Linked DNA regions of Homo sapiens: region 1 is linked to region 2. Evidence: promoter capture Hi-C in 16 types of primary human blood cells and fetal thymus (Javierre and others, 2016). All regions are on one chromosome and are shown on one strand. Each heading gives the region's core, a stretch centred on a gene start or on the middle of the fragment in contact. The rest is flanking DNA. Distances are from core to core; before and after follow the strand shown. Region 1 overlaps CFAP210 (cilia and flagella associated protein 210). Region 2 holds the start of PHOSPHO2 (phosphatase, orphan 2).

Evidence for each region. Contacts are between HindIII fragments. The CHiCAGO score rates a contact against its expected background, and 5 or more counts as called.
Region 1: a fragment that was not itself captured here is called in contact with the fragment with the promoter of PHOSPHO2 in region 2 in 1 of 17 cell types (total B cells); the score reaches 6.2 in total B cells.

The regions. Positions count from the first base shown.
Region 1 is chr2:169,655,617-169,661,159 of GRCh38, reverse strand. All of the region lies in intron 5 of CFAP210 (cilia and flagella associated protein 210), which reads left to right. It also overlaps the pseudogene LOC100421474. Among named protein-coding and RNA genes, the nearest start is that of CFAP210, 36 kb to the left of the region's middle. The HindIII fragment of the contact is 1,996 bases long and covers 3,239-5,234 here.
Region 2 is chr2:169,691,093-169,695,967 of GRCh38, reverse strand. PHOSPHO2 (phosphatase, orphan 2) reads right to left here and starts at 1,499. Exons shown (of 4, transcript NM_001008489.4): 1 at 1,346-1,499; 2 at 721-753. CFAP210 (cilia and flagella associated protein 210) reads left to right here and starts at 1,563. Exons shown (of 9, transcript NM_001085447.2): 1 at 1,563-1,707. The coding sequence starts at 1,641. PHOSPHO2-KLHL23 (PHOSPHO2-KLHL23 readthrough) reads right to left here and starts at 1,499. Exons shown (of 5, transcript NR_144936.2): 1 at 1,346-1,499; 2 at 721-753. RefSeq lists a silencer at 1,191-1,470 and an enhancer at 1,601-1,780. The HindIII fragment of the contact is 4,078 bases long and covers 1-2,714 here.

The DNA of each region.
Region 1 (5,543 bases), core at 2,987-5,486, 38 kb after region 2:
GCAAATTAAAGAAATTTTATGAATTGTCTCAGCGGTTAGAAGCAGCATTAAAAGGTCTTCAGGGAGCCTTGACAAGTACGCCATATTCTCCCACCCAGCATCTAGTGCAAGAACAGGCTTCTGCTAAAGAGTTTTCAGAAGTTCTTCATTTCACACTCTGGTTTGATGAACTCAGGATGACAAATCCTGCTATACAGAATGATTTCAGCTATTATAGAAGAACATTGAGTTGTATAAGGATTAATAATGTACCATCAGGCCAGGCGTAGTGGCTCATGCCTATAATCCTAGCACTTTGGGAGGCTAAGGCAGGCAGATCTCTTTGAGCTCAGGAGTTCGAGACCAGCCTGGCCAACATGGTGAAACCCTGTCTCCACAAAAAATACAAAAAATAGCCAGGCAGGGTGGTGCACGCCTGTGGTCCCAGCTACTCAGGAGGCTGAGGCTGGAGGATTGCTTGAGCCCTAAGTGGAGGTTGCAGTGAGTCAAGATCGTGCCACTGCACTCCAGCCTGGGCAATAGAGCAAGACTCTGTCTCAAAGAAAAAAAAAAAAATATATATATATATATAAAATAAGCAACCTAATGAGGCATCTTAAAGAACTAGAAAAGCAAGAGCAAACCAAACCCAAAATCCCTAGACACAAACCAAGTGCAAAATTAGTAGAAGAAAATAAATAATAAAGATCAGAGCAGAAATAAATGAAATGGAAAGAAACAAAACAAAACAAAAAAAAACAGTGAAATGAAAAGTTGATTTTTTTTTTTTTGAGACAGAGTCTTGCTCTGTCAACCAGGTTGGAGTGCAATGGTGTGATCTCAGCTCACTGCAACCTCTGCCTCCTGGGTTCAAGCAATTCTTCTGTCTCAGCCTCCTGAGTAGCTAGGATTACAGGCACGCACCACCACGCTCAGCTAATTTTTGTATTTTTTTTAGTAGAGACAAGATTTCACCATGTTGGCCAGGCTGGTCTTGAACTCCTGACCTTGTGATCTGCTCGCCTTGGACTCCCAAAGTGCTAGGATTGCAGGCATGAGCCACCGTGCCCAGCCAGAAAAGTTGTCTTTTTTTTTTTAAAGATAAACAAAATTTACAAACCTCTAGCCAGATTAAGAAAAAAAGAGAAGACCTGAATAAAAAAACTCAGAGATGAAAAATGAGACATTACAACTGATGCTGCAGAAATTCAAAAGATCATTAGAGGCTAGTATGAGCAACTATATGTCAATAAATTGGACAATCAAGAATACATGGATAAGTTCCTAGACACATACAACCTATCAAGATTGAACCATGAAGAAATCCAAAACCTGAACAGACCAATAACAAGGGATGAGATTGAAGCCATAATAAAAAGTCTTCCAGTAAAGAAACTTTTGAGTTAATGCTGGAATGAGTTAAGACTTTGGGGACTGTTGGGAAGGCATAATTGGTTTTGAAATATGAGAAGGACATGAGATTTGGGAGGGGTTAAGAGCAGAATGATATGGTTTGGCTCTGTATTGCCACCCAAATCCCTTGTTGAATTGTGATCCCAAGTGTTGGAGGTGGGTCCTGATGGGAAGTGATTAGATCATCGGGGGTGGTTTCTAATGGTTTAACACCATCCTCCTAGTGCTGTCTTGTGAGTGAATTCTCATGAGATTTTGTTGTTTAAAAGTGTGTAGCACTTCCCCCTTCACACTCTCTCTGTCTTACCATCATTTGAAGACATGCTTACTTCCTCTTTGCCTTATGCCATGATTGTTAAGTTTCCTGAGGCCTCCCAGCCATGCTTCCTGTACAACCTGTGGAACTTTGAGCCTATTTAAACCTCTTTTCTTCATAAATTACCCAGTTTCAGGTAGTTCTTTATAGTAATTTGAGAATGGACTAATACAGTAGGTATCATAAGACTCTATGATTAAGTATATTCAGTGGGAGCATTTGCCAAAACTTCCAAACTTGGTATGAAAGGTTGTACCAAGTTCTTTTTTTTAAAGCCCAATCTGGTGGACAAAGGTAACATATCTTCCTGATTTTTTATTTATTTTATTTTTTGAGATAGGGTCTTGCTCTGTTGCCCAGGCTGGAGTGCAGTGGCATGATCACGGCTCACTGAAGCCTTGACTTCCCAGGCTTAAGTGATTCTCCCACCTTAGCATTCTGAGTAGATGGGACTAGGCATACACCACTATGCCTGGCTACTTTAAAAAATTTTTTATAGAGATGGGCTATGTTTCCTAGGCTGGTCTCCAACTCCTGAGGTCAAGCAGTCCTCCTGCCTTGGCCTCCCATGGTTCTGGGATTATAGACATGAGCTACCACAACTGGCCTGTATCAGAGTTCTTAAGGACCAACCTCCTAATAGTGTAAAATATCTTCTAAATGCTCTCCGGTACACAATAAAACATTTGAATGATCAGACTAACTCCAAGCAAATTAAATCCATGATGCAATAACAGTTCGGGAATAAGCACCTGTTGTAGACAGAAGACAGTATTCTGCACTGACTGAGAATACAGTTTTTTAGTGATTGCAATTACCATGACATTTTTCTTGCTTTTATGTCTTCCTCTGTTCCTCTTCTCTCCTTTAAGATCATGTTCTTATTCCTAAGACTTCTTCTCTATACCCAAATTAGTAAAGTTATACTCTAAAGAGATATTGTCCTTTCAAACAGGTAACCTACAGCAGCTAATTATTGGGGTCTCTACTGAGAAAAATTCTGTGACTTTTATCTAAATATTTTCAAATGTGAATTTTGGGGAAACTAATATTTATTTGCTTCTCCTACATGGCAAAACTGCCAATTCTGCTATTTGAAAACCCCCAATGACTTTATTTTCTACTATCACTTTTTTCATGTGCTGCCACAAAATGAAAATGTTTAAATATGTTGTACAAATGGTAGCCAACACAAACTTTTTTGTAGTTTTTAAGAGTTTAAAGTTTTAATTTTACATTTTGACCTTTTTTGTAAGGGTGTATGTTATGTGTTTCACCTTTGTTAACATTAAAAACTGTGATGTGTGCATAGAATATTACTTTCTAGGGCTAAATCTCTGATTTCCTGAAGCTTATGTCTTTTTCTTTCTTGATTTACTCCCTCGTCTTGCTATAATACACCTTTGAATAGCTTCCTTAAGAATGGGTGTATGAGAGGTAAAATTTTTTAATTATCTGAAAAGTTTATTTTTTACTCATTTTTATTTATTTTATTATTTTTTAAGGACAAGTATGATAGTATGAAAAGCTTATCTTTTAAAGTCATGCATGATTTACAGTTTGATTGGTTATAGAATTCTGGGTTCAGAATTCAGAATTTTGTATTAATTGTTTCATATTCCTCTGGCATCCAGTATTGCTACTGAAAAGTATGATGCCATTGATGATCTTCATCTGACATATGTAATCATTTTTACTTTTCTTTCTTATTTTTTTTTTGTTTCATTTTGTTTTGAGACAGTTTCACCCTGCCTCCCTGGCTGGAGTGCAGTGGCATGATCTTGGCTCACTGCTGCAACCTCTGCCTCCTGGGCTTAAGCACTTCCTGTGCCTCAGCCTCCCGAGTAGCTGGGATTACAGGCATGTGCCACATACCCGGCTAATTTTTGTACTTTTAATAGAGACAGGGTTTCGCCATGTTGACTAGGCTGGTCTCGAACTCTTGGCCTCAAGTGATCTGTCCGCCTTGGCCTCCTGAAGTGCTGTGATTACAAGCATGAGCCACTGTGCCCAGCCATTTTTCTTTTTTTCTTTTTCTTCTTTCTGTCCGAATGGTTTTAGGGTCCTGTCTTTATCTCTGGTGCTCCAAAATTTTACAGATGTGCCTTGAATTATGTGCCTTCATTCATTTTTCTGGGCATTCAGTTGATGCTTTTATTCTGTAAACATATTTCTTTCATCCTGAGAACTTTTATTGTTTTATTTCTTAGATAATTTTGTCCCCTCCCATTTTATCTTTCTATTGTTCTAGAATCCCTCTGATAGACATTGGATTTTTTGAAATAATGCTCTAATGTCTAAGAATCTTTTCTCATTAGTTAAGAGAAGGCTTAAATGCATGTGATAGAAAACCCAAAATAATATACAGGTTTAAAGTGCAGGGGTGTCTGGTAATGGCAGCTATAGAATTAACAGGGACTAAGACACCTTCGACACCTTCTTCTCTTTTTTTTTTACTCTGTTCTTTTTTTTTTTTTTTTTTTTTTTGAGATGGAGTCTTATTCTGTCACCCAGGCTGGAGTGCAGTGGCATGATCTCAGCTCACTGCAACCTCTGCCTCCCAGGTTCAAGCAATTCTCCCTGCCTCAGCCTCCCAAGTAGCTGGGATTACAGGCACCCACCGCCATACCCCACTAATTTTTGTGTTTTTAGTAGAGATGGGTTTTCACCATGTTGGCCAGGCTGGTCTTGAACTCCTGACCTCAGGTGATCTGCCTGCCTCAGCCTCCCAAAGTGCTGGGATTACAGGTGTGAGTCACCACGCCCGGTCTACTCTGTTATTCTTTGTACATAGATGGCATCTGTTCTCAAGTTTGCCTCATGGCCCTGAATAGCTGCTGGAGTTTTAGCCCTCATCTCCACATTCTGGATAGCAAGAAAGAAGAAAGGATGAAGGTCAAAAGGGAGTACTCTATTTCCTGTCTCCTTCTCCTCCTCCTCCTCCTCCTCCTCCCGCACCTCCTTCTCCACCACCTTCTCCTCCTCCTCCTTCTCTACTTCATCTTCCTCCTCTTCCTTCTCTTCCTCGTCCTCCTCCTTCTCTACTTCATCCTCCTCCTCCTCTTCCTCCTCTTTCCTCTTTCTTCTTCCTTTTTCCTCCTCTTCCTCTCTTCTCCTTCTCCTCCTTCTTCTTCTTCCTCTTCTTCCTCTTCCTCTTTTTTTGAGACAGGGTCTCACTCTGTTTCCCAGGCTGGAGTGCAGTGGCACGATGTTGGCTCACTGCAGCCTTGACTTCCTGGGCTTAAGTGATCCTCCCACCTCAGCCTGCCTGGTAGCTGGGACTACAGGCATGTGCTGCCATACCTGTCTAATTTTTGTGGTCTTTTTTGTAGAGATGGTTCTGGTATGTTGCCCAGGCTGTTCTCCTTTTAAGGAATTTTCCAAGAAGTCCCACTTAACAGTTTTCCCTGAATCTCATTGGTCATAATTTTGTTACACCTGGCTGAAAAGAAAGCTGCACATGTAGTCTTTCAGCTGAGCATATTTCTACCCTGAATAAAATCTGGGTCCTGCTGCTAACGAAGCTTAGGCAACTAATTGTTTCTGCCGTTTTCTTTTTGTTCTACTGAGTTTCAACTTTGTATTCTAAGTCTTCTATTAATTTTTTTATTTTAGCTATGAAAATTTTAATTCCTAAGACTTTTACTTGAAATGTTGTTATTGTTTTCATTAAAATCTGATTATTGGTTAAGGGGTGGAATAATTTTTATGTCTCCAAGTAGGCTTGGAGTAGGACAGACCTAGTTTTTAATGCTAACTCTGCCATTTACTGGCTATATGACCTTGAGCTTAAGCTTTCAATATTGAAAAATGAGAATTAACTCTGTGTTAATCA
Region 2 (4,875 bases), core at 250-2,749:
TCTCAAGGATGTTTGTACACTGGACAGCCTTGAGAAACATGCTTATTTGTCCAAATGATAAAGATCTGGGTTCCCTAAGCTCAGGGCTCCTTTCCTGTAATTCGACACACACTACATCTAGGTGACTTCTTGCCCACTTTGCATTATCCTGTGGGAACTGGGGCTTTAGGGAACTCAGGCGAAATTGCTGATTTACTGGCTACTGCTGGGAGTAATTCATTCCTGAAATGAATAGTCTTGTGTCTTCCATGAAACTGCCAGGCTAAGTTAGCCTGCAAACAGGGTAAAAATCTCTGTTCCTTCCCAGTTCTTGAAACTTTTTTTTTTTTTGAGACGGAGTCTCGCTCTGTCGCCCAGGCTGGAGTGCAGTGGCACGATGGTCGGCTCACTGCAAGCTCCGCCTCCCAGGTTCACGCCATTCTCCTGCCTCAGCCTCCAGAGTACCTGGAACTACAGGCGCCCGCCACCACGCCTGGCTAATTTTTTTGTATTTTTGCTAGAGACAGGGTTTCACCGTGTTAGCCAGGATGGTCTCGATCTCCTGACCTCGTGATCCGCCCGCCTCGGCCTCCCAAAGTGCTGGGATTACAGGCGTGAGCCACCGCGCCTGGCCCCCAGTTCTTGACACTTTTTAAGGTATAGTTCCAAAAACCTACCAGCGCTGTATGTGCACAAACTAATTTCTGTCTTCAAATATTTTCTTAATTATTCCATACTTACCAGCATTATTACGTGGAACATCTGATAGAAAACCTAAAGAAAAATAGCACGACTATGTGTTAGAACATTCGTTATTAAAAATCTTTTTGTTCTTTCATTTTGAGAGACTCCAATTTGGTGCATTATGTGTACACGTCAGAGCCAACTTGTTAGTAATGAAGTTATCTGTACATCAATGTGTTAGAAAAGCATCTTTTGAAACCAAACGCGCAGCTACTCCTAACAGATTTCTGTGGTCATGTATTTACCAAGAAATTTAAAATATCTCAAAGGTCCTAACGTAAATATTCTAAGCATATCATTACGTTTTAACATTCCTATTTTTAAAAAACTTGGCCCCATCTAGTCCTGACCATGCCTCAGAAACCAAAGGATTAAAAAAACAGCGTTTATGTCAGCGAATCCGCGGGTTTTTATAGTTAAGGGAGGGCTTTGCTCCTCACACTCCACCCGCGAGGAGATCTGCGGACGCACACACCACGCCTAGGCCTCGCGCGCTCACACACCTGCCGGCTCCACCCCGAGGGTAGGCATCGGACCCAATCGGGGGTCGTCCCCCATGGGGAGCGCGCAGGTGGGGATGGGAGTAGCAGGCAGGGCGGGGGCCCACGGGCTTCTCACTGACCCAGTCCCGCCGTCGGCAGCCGCCCCGGCGCCCGTGACGCTCCTGCGGGTTCAGTCCTTTGGCCTCGCCCCACGCCTGCCCTCTCGGCAGCCCCACTCACAAGCCCAGCTCGCAAGCGCAGGCGCCTCTCTTCTCTAGCCCGACCGCCAACTGCAGCACCTCCCTTGTTCCTCGGCTACGGCTGGCGTCACTTCCGGCGGCGTTGCCAAGCAACCGCGTGGTACGAGTAACAACTCCACCGGCTGGCGTCCGCGGCGCTTGGCGCCACAGTCACTTTTCCAGATCTAGGAGCATCATGGACACCTCGTCAGAGATGCTGGTACGGTTTGGACGGCGCTGTGGACGGGCGAAGGAAAGTACAGGTGAGCTAAACTGACCTATCCAGGGACAGGGATTGTTTCTGGACCCCCGGCATGGAGTGAGAGGCGAGGATGCCGAATGAGGGCTTCAGTTGCCTTTTGAAATGGACTCCACCAGGTCGAAAGCATCCTCAATAAGCATCTTTGGGCTCTGTGTGAAGTTAGGCCGTCTTGCCCTCAGGTGAATGGGTGAAGGAGGGAAACGGGGAGTGGAAGTGGGTGGGAGAATGTTTACAGAAATAGGGGTGGAGAAAAGATAGGAAATCAGAGACCCCCACCCCCAGCCCCAGCTGACCTAAAACTGCGCAGTTGCAGCTCTGAGAGTCTGGGTTTTGTTAAATTTCCCGCACGCTTAAAGTTTGTTATTCACTGATTGAATTGGAATATCTCTTGGAAATATAAGTCACCTCTTTAGAGGCTTGGCTCTTCTGCAAACCTGCTGATTGGTCTTTACTAAAAGTCTCTGAAGGAAATATCTCCATTTCCTCCTCTCTAAAGTAAATATAAGGTCTCTCTCTAAGTCAAATGCTTTTAGAGAGTTAAAAAAAAATCGTGTGACATAAAGTACTGTAATTCAGGTGACCTGTTATAACAATTTGATTTTGGAATAGAAATAGACTTCTAAAGAACTCTATCAATTCTAGCTACAACAGTTTCTTACGTCTGTAAATTAGCAATTAATGTTGTCATGGTGACAACTAGAACTTTGGCAATTTGAAGTATCTTCATGTCATTGCCCGAGCTTCTGTAGCAATAGTGCCCCCTGCACCAGATGCAGAGTGACAGCCAGTCATTCTTCACTAGTGGATATTTATGCAGTGGAGGTTTTATGAGGTTAGCAGCGGACTTTTGCCATGTAAAAGGAAAGAAACAGTACCAACATGGCCAGTTTTGGAAAAGCACAATTAGTCCCACACATTCACTTTCCTGCATATGCATTTCTGCACTACCTGGTTTAGATTTACCTAATAGTTGTTAAATAATGTTTTGTGGCAACTAGCTCAAAAGCTTCCACCTGAGCCTCACTGCTAAATTTTAATCTCCATTTTTAGGGGAAGGCTAAGTTGGAGAGAGGTTCAGAGATGTGTGCAGCTATTAGTAAAATAAATAATTTATAAAGATTTAGTGGGATGACATCAGCCAGAATGGTGAAATAGGATCTATGCCTGAAATCCTCTCCTCCATAAAATCAACAAGAACAGTGGCAAAAATCATCAATATCGACTTTTTCAGAACTCTGGAAATTAACCAAAGGCTTGCAACAATTTGTAGAGTGTTTACTAAAGAAAAACAGCTGGATTTTTGTAACAACAGCAAGGTTTTTGGCATTTTAACTTGCCATAGTCCTATACTTTTCTCCCAGCCCCGTGTCAGCCTAGATAACCACAGTAATCACAGTGAAAAATAGTGACTTAGCAACTGGTAGAGGGGACAAAACAGAATTTGACCCACTCCAAAGCCAGACAACTGTTATTATTCGACATGTTTGATAGTTCCTTGGAAAATCTCACTCATGAGGCTTATTGTTATTTAGTCTGACTTCAAACTCACCAAGTATGTTTGTCAAATGTTCAGTGGCAATTTTAAATATCACAGCTATCAGAGGCATGTGTGGGAACTTAATCCCCAATGTAAAAATGTTGGAAGGTAGGGACTAATGAGAGGTGATAGGCCATGAGGGCAGAGTAAAGGGATTAATGCCATTATCTGGGGAATGGGTTCATTATAAAAGTGGGAAAGTTGGCCCTCTTCTTTCTCTCTCTCTCTCTCTGTCTCTGTGTGGTGTGTGTGTGTGTGTGTGTGTGTGTGTGTGTGTGTGCGTGCGCCTGTTGCCCTCTCTTTGCCCTTTTGCCATGTAATGCCTTCCATCATGTTATGATGCGGCAAGAAGGCCCCTGCCAGATGCTGGCACCTCGATACTAGCTTTCTCAGCCTCCAGAACCATAAGCCAATAAATTTCTATTCCTTATGAATTACCGAGTCTCAGGTATTCTGTTATAACAGCATGAAACAGGCAGGCAGTGATACAGTTGGGAGGCAAACAACAAGCTGACCGAAAATCTTAAAAGGATCAGTTGGGAAGTGATATGTCCATAGGGGGCTTTGGAAAGCTCCTGACATATTCCTGGGAATCTAGAAGGCCAAGTGCATGCATAGAGCTATGTATATGCCCAGGAAAGACCTGCAAATGCCTCTCACCTATGACTTACCTTGAGACTCTGTTTAAGAAAGAAGTAGAGGCTAAGATGGAGTTGTAAATTGCCTGCCCGAGCATTGAAGGCATGCCTTAATACTCATAGACAGTCCTTTGGCAAAGACTGGGAGACTTGTTAGTTCCAGTCATCCAAAGATATGTCTGTCTAGTTATTAGCTGACCACTAAGCAAACCAGAGACTGCAGTGACTCCAGTGGCCACATGTGACAAAGAATACAGACTACAGAATTGGTTCAGAGAAGTCCTGAAACAAACAACAACAGCAGGAATGAGAAACTTTGGGTGTATGTAGAAATCTGATTTCCAGAGTTGACACATATATGTACAGTTTTTAATAAAAATTATGAAAGATGAAAAGAAATAAAGTATGACCCAAACACAAGAAAAAGGTTTCAATAGAAAGTGTCTTTGAAATGGACTCCACCAAGTTGAAAGCATCCTCAATAATCATCTTTTGGCTCTGTGGAAGTCTGGCCATTTTGTGCTCAGTTGAATGGGTGGAAGAGGGAAAGGGGGAGTGGAAGTGGCGGGGAGGATGTCTACAGAAGTAGGGGTGGACAAAAGATAGGAAATCAGAGACTGCCCCCCCAACTGACCTAAAACTGTGCAGTTGCAGTTGTTGTAAGCCCAGATGTTGGATTTACTAGATACAAACTTTTGTAAATTTATAGCTATTGTAAATATATTTAAAGAACTAAAACAAAAGTCTAAAGAACTATAGAAAAGTATTAAGAATGTTGTCTTACCAAATAGAGGATATCAATGAATATTTAAAAAAATTATAAAAAGGAACTGAACAGAAATGTTGGAGTTGAAAAGCACAATAACTGAATTAAAAAATTAACTAGAGGGATCAATAGCTGATTTGAACTTGCAGAAGACATAATCAGTGAACTTGAAGATAAGTCAATTGAGATTATTCAGTCTCAGAATAATGAGAAAGAAAAAAAGATAAA